Regions from separate parts of the Homo sapiens genome. Here regions 2 and 3 are each linked to region 1. The links are contacts of gene promoters, found by promoter capture Hi-C in blood cells and fetal thymus (Javierre and others, 2016). All regions are on one chromosome and are shown on one strand. The core of a region is centred on a gene start or on the middle of the fragment in contact, and the rest is flanking DNA. Distances in the headings are between cores, read along the strand shown. Region 1 holds the start of TMEM51-AS2 (TMEM51 antisense RNA 2). Region 2 overlaps FHAD1 (forkhead associated phosphopeptide binding domain 1). Region 3 holds the start of LOC124903853 (a long non-coding RNA gene).

The links. The method cuts DNA at HindIII sites, captures the fragments that hold promoters and counts their contacts. A CHiCAGO score of 5 or more calls a contact.
Region 2: a fragment that was not itself captured here is called in contact with the fragment with the promoter of TMEM51-AS2 in region 1 in 6 of 17 cell types (M0 macrophages, M1 macrophages, monocytes and 3 more); the score reaches 13.2 in M0 macrophages.
Region 3: a fragment that was not itself captured here is called in contact with the fragment with the promoter of TMEM51-AS2 in region 1 in 5 of 17 cell types (monocytes, M1 macrophages, M0 macrophages and 2 more); the score reaches 11.8 in monocytes.

Annotation. Positions count from the first base shown.
Region 1 is chr1:15,170,000-15,172,910 of GRCh38, reverse strand. It overlaps TMEM51-AS2 (TMEM51 antisense RNA 2), which reads left to right and starts at 1,287. Exons shown (of 3, transcript NR_167931.1): 1 at 1,287-1,300; 2 at 1,596-1,730. All of the region lies in intron 1 of TMEM51 (transmembrane protein 51), which reads right to left. RefSeq lists an enhancer at 598-767. The HindIII fragment of the contact is 7,186 bases long and covers 1-2,911 here.
Region 2 is chr1:15,260,798-15,263,795 of GRCh38, reverse strand. The region is part of intron 2 of FHAD1 (forkhead associated phosphopeptide binding domain 1); the gene reads right to left. Among named protein-coding and RNA genes, the nearest start is that of FHAD1, 15 kb to the right of the region's middle. RefSeq lists an enhancer at 2,175-2,234 and a silencer at 2,009-2,303. The HindIII fragment of the contact is 2,052 bases long and covers 404-2,455 here.
Region 3 is chr1:15,290,854-15,293,784 of GRCh38, reverse strand. All of the region lies in intron 4 of FHAD1 (forkhead associated phosphopeptide binding domain 1), which reads right to left. It overlaps LOC124903853 (a long non-coding RNA gene), which reads left to right and starts at 1,852. Exons shown (of 2, transcript XR_007065482.1): 1 at 1,852-2,134. The HindIII fragment of the contact is 1,302 bases long and covers 755-2,056 here.

The DNA.
Region 1 (2,911 bases), core at 38-2,537:
TCTGATAACCCAGACCGCTCCTAAGTGACCAATGAGCAGGTAGTGTCGACAGCACCCATCTGCTGGACAAAGAGACGATTCACGTCTGGAGCAGGACAGAGTGGGACAGTGTGAGATTTCATCACACTACTCAGAATGGGATGCAATTTAAAACTTATGAATCATATCTTTCCGGAATTTTCCATTTAATATTTTCAGATTGTAGTTGGCTATGGGTAACTGAAACAGTGGAGAGTGAAATGATAGAAAAGGAGGAACTCTTGTAGACAATATAGGATCATAAAGGGTTAAGTCACTTGCTCAGGATCACAAAGCTGGCACGTGGTGGAACCAGAATTCTAACCCGTGGCTGTCTAGCCCCAGAGTTCACTTACTTTCTCTTTTCCTTTTTCTTCTGTCTCTGTCTCTCTCTCTCTCCTTCTTCTCTTTCTTTTTTCTTCTTTCTCTCTCTCCTTCCTTCCTTTCCATTCTTTTCTTTCCTCCCTCCCTCCTCCTTCCTTCCTTTTTTTTTTTTTTTTTTTTTGAGACAGGGTCTCACTCACTCTGTTGCCCAGGCTGGGGTGCAGTGGCACAATCTTGGCTCACTGCAGCCTTGACCTCCCAGGGTCAGGTGACCCTACCACCTCAGCCTTCCAAGTAGCTGGGACTACAGGCACGTGTCACCATGCTCCACTAATTTTGGTATTTTTTCTTTTTTGCAGAAATGGAGTTTTGCCATGTTGCCCAGGCTGGTCTTGCACTCCTGGGCTCAAGCGATCCACCTGCCTCAGCCTCCCAAAGTGCTGGGATTACAGGTGTGAGCCACTGTGCCTGGACAGAGTCCACTTTCTTTTCCATACTTCAGAAGTTTCAAACGTGGCTGGGTATGTTAATCAGCTAGAGAGCTTGTTTGAAAATCTGATTCCTGAGTCCCACTGCTGAAGTCTGACTCGGCAGGCCTGGGCTGGGGCCTGGAAATCTGCTTTTATTAAGTTCTCAGCTGATGATCTGAGCAAGGGGTTGTTGGGATGGACCACATCTGTTTCTGCTAGAAGGTCCTGTCAAGAGAGTCAGGGAACGCCCAGCAGAGCCCCAGAAACCACCTGTGGGTTCAAGGAGGAGGTTCCGCGGCAAGGACTGATTGATCAGCTGTGGTAGTTCCTGCTGTGCGGGCTTGGTTAAGCTGGAACTACTTTTCCCAGAATCCCCTTCTCTGACTGGTTCTGGGTTATAATTGGTCAAAAGAGGAATCTGTGGAAAGCTGGGAGATGGAAGTGAAGCAGCGACCATTACACTTTAGAGGTCATCATGATTGGATGAGGTGAGAGACAGCCCCGTGGGTTCCAGCACATTCGAGCCTGTCCTCCATTCTGCATCCAGCTCTTTCTCCTGACTGCTGGTCCTGTTAACCAACAGCAGCCCAGGCCCCCCCGCGGACACTTGGCTGGGGATGGACCAGACAACGGCTGGCTGTAGACTTCTCCACCAGTTTGCCCGTGTACCCAGGGCCAGGTGGCGATGCCCCTGGTCCCCGGCAACTCTTCCACCTTCCTTTCTGCCGCCCCCCCTATGAATGCATAAGAACTAATTCCTATAACAAACCCCTTATCTCATAGGTCATAGAAGTTTGGCTTCTCTCATTGACCTGGAAGGATGCCGTCATCCACTCTGACCTGCAAACCTTTTGATCTCAAACAGCGATCTTCCAGGCGTGGCCCCAAATCAACAGCATCAGCGTCACCCAGGAGCTGGTTAGAAATGCAAATCCTGGGGCCCCACTCAGACCTACTGAATCAGCAACTGGGGGTGGGGGATGTGGCGGGGGGTGGAGGAGGAGGGAGGACCCAGCAATCTATGTTTTAACAAGCCCCCCACCCCAGAGGATTCTAACACAAGCTGAAGATGGAGAACCACTCATGCAAGCATTTAGAAAACCTGCCTCTAGGGAGGCCGAGGCGGGCGGATCATGAGGTCAGGAGATCGAGACCATCCTGATTAACACGGTTAAACCCCGTCTCTACTAAAAATACAAAAAATTAGCCAGGCGTGGTGGAGGGCGCCTGTAGTCCCAGCTGCTTGGGAGGCTGAGGCAGGAGAATGGCATGAACCCGGGAGGCGGAGCTTGCAGTGAGCTGAGATCGCAACACTGCACTCCAGCCTGGGCGACAGAGGGAGACTCCGTCTCAAAAAAAGAAAACCTGCCTCCATTTCTGTTTGGGATGATGTAGTAGTTCTGGAAAAAAGACAGTGGCGATGGTCACACAGCACTGTAAATGTGCTTAATGTCCCAGAATTGTACACTTAAAAATGGTTAAAATAGGCCAGGTGTGGTGGTGACTCACGCCTATAATCCCAGCACTTTGGGAGCCTGAGGTGGGCAGATCACTTGAGCCTGGGAGTTTGATACCAGTCTGGGCAACATGGCAAAACCCCGTTTCTACCAAAAAATACAAAAATTAGCCGGGCGTGGTGGTGCGCACCTGTAATCCCAGCTACTCAGGAGGCTGAGGCAGGAGAATCGCTTGAAACTGGAAGGCGGAGGTTGCAGTGACTCCATCTCAAAAAAAAAAAAAGATAAAAAAAAACCCAGCAGTATCCCAGGCACCTAGCTTTACCTTGCCCTGCAGCAGAGGGCCGGGGGAGAGGAGGGAAAGGAGGAAGTTGGCTTGCTCATGGGTCTGTACTCCCAGGCATTCTGAGATAAAGCCCCACGACTCTCAGGTGTGTTTGGCTTGGATTTGGAATGGACTTACTAGAATGGAAAGATTTTCAAAAATAATTATGACAGTAACACCTAAAAATGTATTGAGCATGTACTGTTTTAAGTACATTTATAGTTGAATCTTCACAACATCCTAAAACTATTCTCCCCATTTCGAGAAAGTGAGCCATGGCTCAAGGTCACCCAGATCATTAGGACCATTTGAACTTA
Region 2 (2,998 bases), core at 180-2,679, 91 kb before region 1:
TAATCCCAGCACTTTGGGAGGCTGAGGCGGGCAGATCACGAGGTCAGGAGATCAAGACCATCTGGGCTAACACAATGAAACCCCGCCTCTACTAAAAATACAAAAAATTAGTTGGGCGTGGTGGCAGGTGCCTGTAGTCCCAGCTACTTGGGAGGCTGAGGCAGGAGAATGGCATGAACCCGTGAGGCGGAGCTTGCAGTGAGCCGAGATTGCGCCACTGCACTCCAGCCTGGGCGACAGAGCGAGACGCTGTCTCAGACAAAAAAAAAAAAAAAAAAAAAAAAAGAATAAAACTGGACCCTTAACTTACACCATAAACAAAAATTAGTTCAAAATGGATCAAAGACCTAAACATAAGAGCTAACACTATAAAACCCTTAAAAGAAAACATAGAAGAAAAGCTTCCGGACAATAGATTTGACAGTTATTTCTTGGCAATGACACCAAGAACACAGGCAACAAAAGTAAAAATAGATAAACTGGAATACATTAACATTAAAACTTCTATATATCAAAGGATACACTCAACACAGTGAAAAGGCAACCTACGGAATGGAAGAAAATATTTACAAATCACATATCTGAAAAAGGGTTAATCTCCATGATATATAAAGAACCCCACAACTCAACAGTAACAAAACAAAAATAACCCTATTAAAAAATGTGCAAAGGATTTGAATGGACTTTCTCCAAAGAAGATACACAAATGGCCAACAAGTATATGAGAAGAATGCTCAAGATCACAAATCATTAAGAAATTCAAATCAAAACCACAAGGAGATACCACTTTGCACCCTTTAGGATGGCTACTATAAAAACACAGAAAATAAGTGTTGGCGAGGACGTGGAGATGTTAAACCCTCGTGCACTGTGGCTGGGAATGTAAAATAGTGCAGCCACTGTGGAAACAATATTGTGGTTCCTCAAAAATGTAATAATAGAATTACCATATGATCCGGCAATGCCACTTCTGGGTATATATTCAAAAGAATTGAAAGCAGGGTCTCAAAGAGACATTTGTACAGTCGTGTTCCTAGCAGCATTATTCACATTATTCACAGTAGCCAAATGGTGAAAGCAACCCAGGTGTCCATGGACAGACAAAAGATAAACAAAACGTGGTCCATCCAAACAATGGATGTTATTTAGCTTTTAAAAGAAAGGAAATTCTGCCACAACGTGGATGAACCTTGAGAACATATGCTGGTGAAATAAAGCAGTCACAAAATACATGTTGTGGCTCACACCTGTAATCCCAGCACTTTGTGAGGCTGAGGTAGGAGGATTACTTGAGCCCAGGCGTTAGAGGCCAGCCTGGAAACATAGTGAGACCTCGTTTCTAGCTCTCCTACTTCCTAGTGGGGTGACCCTGGGCAAGTGATCTATTCCCTTGGGACCTCAGTTTCCTCATCTGTAAACAGAGATAATAGCAGAATGGCCCTTATGGGTTTGTGGTGAAGAATAAATGAAACAGTATATATAAAAAGCACTTAGAAGAGTATTTTAGCCCAATAGCAGGTGTTAAAATGTTCACTATTATGCGCAGAAGGATGGGCTCTGCACTTAGAAAGCTCTGAGTTCAAGTCCCACCTCTGCTGCATTCCTGCTGTGCAGCCTGGGACAAGTTTCTTTGCCTCTCTGAGGCTGCTTCCTATGCTGCAAAAATGAGTGTGATAAGCTCTACCTCAAAGGACTGACAAAAGATACTATTTGGCAAAATTTTCAGTGTGGTGGGATAACATTTTTGAAATTAACTGGTGTGTGTGTGTGTGTGCGTGTGTGCTAAAAACACAGGGGCTTGCTATGTTGCCCAGGCTGGAGTGCAGTAGCTATTTCCAGGCACCATCAAAGCATAATACAGCCTTGAACCCCTGGGCTCGAGTGATCTTCCTGCCTCAGCCACCCAAGTGCCTGGGACGACAGGCACCTGTGTGTATCAAATCATATTTCTTTTTACCTTTTGGTCCTTGGCCATCCTGCGCCCCCACTGTGACCCCTGTCACTGCCTCAGGAAAGGGATGTAATGCAGAAACAGAACAAGCTGGGGTTTTCAAAGGAATAGGGATATGAGGAAATGGCCAGGGCTCTGGTAAGACTGTGAGTCTGGGAGCAGAGGGAAAGAGGAAGTTTGTCGGCTTCCCTCCTGTCAATCAGAGCCTTGCTCAGCTTCTCTGGGAGAGTCTTGAGAAGCAGGCAAGTCCCCGAGAAGACGCTGTTTCAGGCGGTATCTCTGAGAGCTCCCCAGAATCAGTGCTACTCTGAGAGAGGGAGGGGAGAGTTCCGAGAGTCCTGTGTAATGGAGTCTGTGACAGTTCCCCTCGGTGCACTGACGGCTCGAAAGAACCTTGAGCTGAGACAGCAATGCGTGCCCACTTGCTAGGCACTCATGATAGAGCAGCGATTAGTCATCCTCGTGTCCACACCCCCGTTCCGGAAGTCCTCTTTTCCTGAAGCTTCTTGTCCCTGCACGGTCCCAGACAGCCTGACTATGAATCCCACCCTCTGTGCCCGTCATACGTGACCTTGGGCAGGCTCCTTAGTCTGTCTGTGCCACAACTTCCTCATCTGTAAAATGGGGGAAGGGAGATCCCTAACTTGTAGGGTTGCTGAAAGGATTAACCGAGTTAATACACACAAAAGTGCAAACAACAGTGCCTGGCACAAAGTAAACCCACAATAACACAAATGATAGCATCATCCTCTTGGCTCATCCACCATCTTTCTCCACTGTCCCTGGCAGTGACCCTACTGATTCCTCTGAAAAGCTCTCAACATCCCATATTATCGCTTCCCTCTCTATGGCCAGAGTCCAAGCAAGAGATGGTAATAACTGTGATTGGCAGAATGGTCCCACAAAGGTGTCCGTGTCCTAATCCCTGGAACCCGTGAGTGTGCTGCTGCCTTACATGGCAAAGGGATGGTGCAGAAGTGATAACGATGACTCATCTTGAAACAGGGAGGTTAACCTGGATTATCCAGAGGGGGCTAATCTAACCAC
Region 3 (2,931 bases), core at 156-2,655, 120 kb before region 1:
CCATGGAATGTGACTCAATGATAACAAGGAACAACTTGTTTTTGTTTTTTTGTTTGTTGGTTTTTTGAGGTAGAATCTTGCTCTGTCCGCCCAGGCTGGAGTGCAGTGGCACAATCTCAGCTCACTGCAACCTCTGCCTCCCGGGTTCAAGCGATTCTCCTGCCTCAGCCTCCTGAGTAGCTGGGATTACAGGTGCGTGCCACCACACCCAGCTAATTTTTGTATTTTTAGTAGAGATGGGGTTTCACCATGTTAGTCAGGCTGGTCTCAGACTCCCGACCTTGTGATTCGCCCTCCTTGGCCTCCCAAAGTGCTGAGATTACAGGCATGAGCCACCGCGCCTGGCCACAAGGAACAACTTGTAAGACATACAGCAAAATGGATGAATCTCAGAAATATGCAGAGTGAAAAAAGCCTCACATGAAAAACATACACTACATGATTCCATGTATTTGAGAATCTAGAACAGGAGTCTCTAATCCATGGTGGAAAAAGAATTTGGAAGAGTGGTTACCTCTGGGGGCAAGGGTTGGGAACTGACTTGGAAGGGACCTGAGGGAGCTTCCTGGGATGATGGTGATGTTCTTGACAGGGGTTTGGGTTACACAAGTGTATACAATTGTCAAAACGTAGTGAGTGTTCACTCAAGATCTGTGCATTTCATTGAGTGGCAGCCAGTCTCCAAGATGACCCTGGTGATTCTTGTCCCTGTATTCATGCCCCTATATAGTCATCTCCCATGCTGGATGAAGCTTGTATTAATATGCTCAGGTTGCCATAACAAAATACCACAGACTAGGGGGCTCAATAACAGAAATTAATTTTACTTTATTAAATGTTTAATTCTTTCTTTTAAAAATAGAGATGGGGTCTTGCTGTGTTTCCCCAGCTGGTCTTGAACTCCTATCTTCAAGGGATCCTCCTGCCTCAGCCTCCCAAACTGCTGGGATTACAGGGGTGAGCCACTGCACCAATTTATTTTTTCAAGTTTTAGAGGTTGAAAGATCAAGGTGTTGGCCGGGTGGCTTCTCCTGAGGCCTCTCTTCTTGGCTTGCAGACGGCCACCTTCTCACTGTGTCCTCACATGGTCTTTCCTCTGGTGTTGCTTGTGTCCTAATCACCTCCTCTCACAAGGACAACAGTCAGATTGGATTAGGGCCCAACCTAACTACCTCATTTTAACTTAATTACCTCTTTAAAGGCGGGTGGATCACCTGAGGTCAGGAGGTTGAGACCAGCCTGGCTAACATGGTGAAAACTCGTCTCTACTAAAAACACAAAAAATTAGCTGGGCGTGGTGGCGGGCGCCTGTAGTCCCAGCTACTCGGGAGGCTGAGGCAGGAGAATGGTGTGAACCTGGGAGGTGGAGCTTGCTGTAAGCCGAGATCGTGCCACTGCACTCCAGCCTGGGCGACAGAGCGAGACTCCGTCTCAAAAAGACAAAACAAAACAAAAAAAACCCCACAAAAATTAGCCAGGCCTGGTGGTGGGTGCCTGTAATCCCAGCTACTCAGGAGGCTGAGGCAGGAGAATCACTTGAACCTGGGAGGCAGAGGTTTTAATGAGTCGAGATCATGCCACTGCACTCCAGCCTGGGAGACAGAGTGAGACTCAGTTTCTAAAAGAAAGAAAAAAAGAAAAGAAAAGAAGGAAGGAAGAAAGAAAGGCACTCTCTCAATACAGTTAGGTTCTGTGGTACTGGGGATTAGGACTTCAACATATAAATTTTGAGAGAACACAATTCAGCCATAACAGAGCTTATCTATGTAACCAAGGCTACTGGAGAAATGATGGAGTTTGACTCCTGAGGCTGGATCTTAAGAGACATGTGGCTGCTGCTTTTCTCTCTAGGACCACTCTTTTGGAGGAAGCTGGCAGCCATTTCATGAGGAGACTCAAGCAGCCTAGGAGAGGTGGCAGTGGTGAAGAACTGAGGCTTCCTGCTGTCAGCTAGTGAGGAACTGAGGCCTCTTCACACACGGATGTGAGTGAACTACCCAGGAGATGTGTCCTCCAGCCCCAGGCCTTCAGAGGACCGCAGCTCTCGTCAAAAGCTTAATGCAACCTCCTGAGAGTCCCTGAACTACAGCCATCCTGCTAAGCTACTCCCAAATGCCTGACCCCCAGAAACTGTGTAAGATAACGCATAGGGTTTTGGTTTGTTTTAGGGTGCTATATGTTAGGGTAATTGGTTATAAATTGGTAACTAATACACACCGTATGTTAATTTTACACAAAAAGACAAAAACTGTTGAACTCCAGTTAATGGTATACGTGCTAAATGTTTAGGGGGAAGTCTACAGCTGTAGGAAACTTATTTTAAAATGTATCTAAAATTAAGATGAATTAATGAATTCACAAAATGATTGATAGAGAGATATACAATAAGAGTATAGCAAAATGGGCCAGGCGTGGTTGGCTCACACCTGTAATCCCAGCACTTTGGAGGCCAAGGTGGGCAGATCACTTGAGGTCAGGAGTTTGAGACCAGCCTGGCCAACATGGCAAAACCTCGTCTCTACTGAAAATACAAAAATTAGCTGAACATGGTGGTGTGTGCCTGTAATCCCAGCTACTTGGGAGGCTGAGGCAGGAGAACCGCTTGAACCCAGAAGGTGAACTCCAGCTTGGGCAATAGAGTGAGACTCTGTCTCAAGAAAAAAAAAAAAAAAAAAGAGTATAGTAAAATGTTAATGGTAGATTTAGGTGGGGAGGGGGTCACTGTAAAATTATTTTTACTTTGCTGTATGTTTAAAAAATGTTCATATTAAGGCTGGGCGCAGTGGCTCATGTCTGTAATCCCAGCACTTTGGGAGGCCGAGGTGGGCGGATCACAAGGTCAGGAGATCAAGACCATCCTGGCTAACATGGTGAAACCCCATCTCTACTAAAAATACAAAAACAAAAAATTAGCCGGGTATAGTGGCAGGA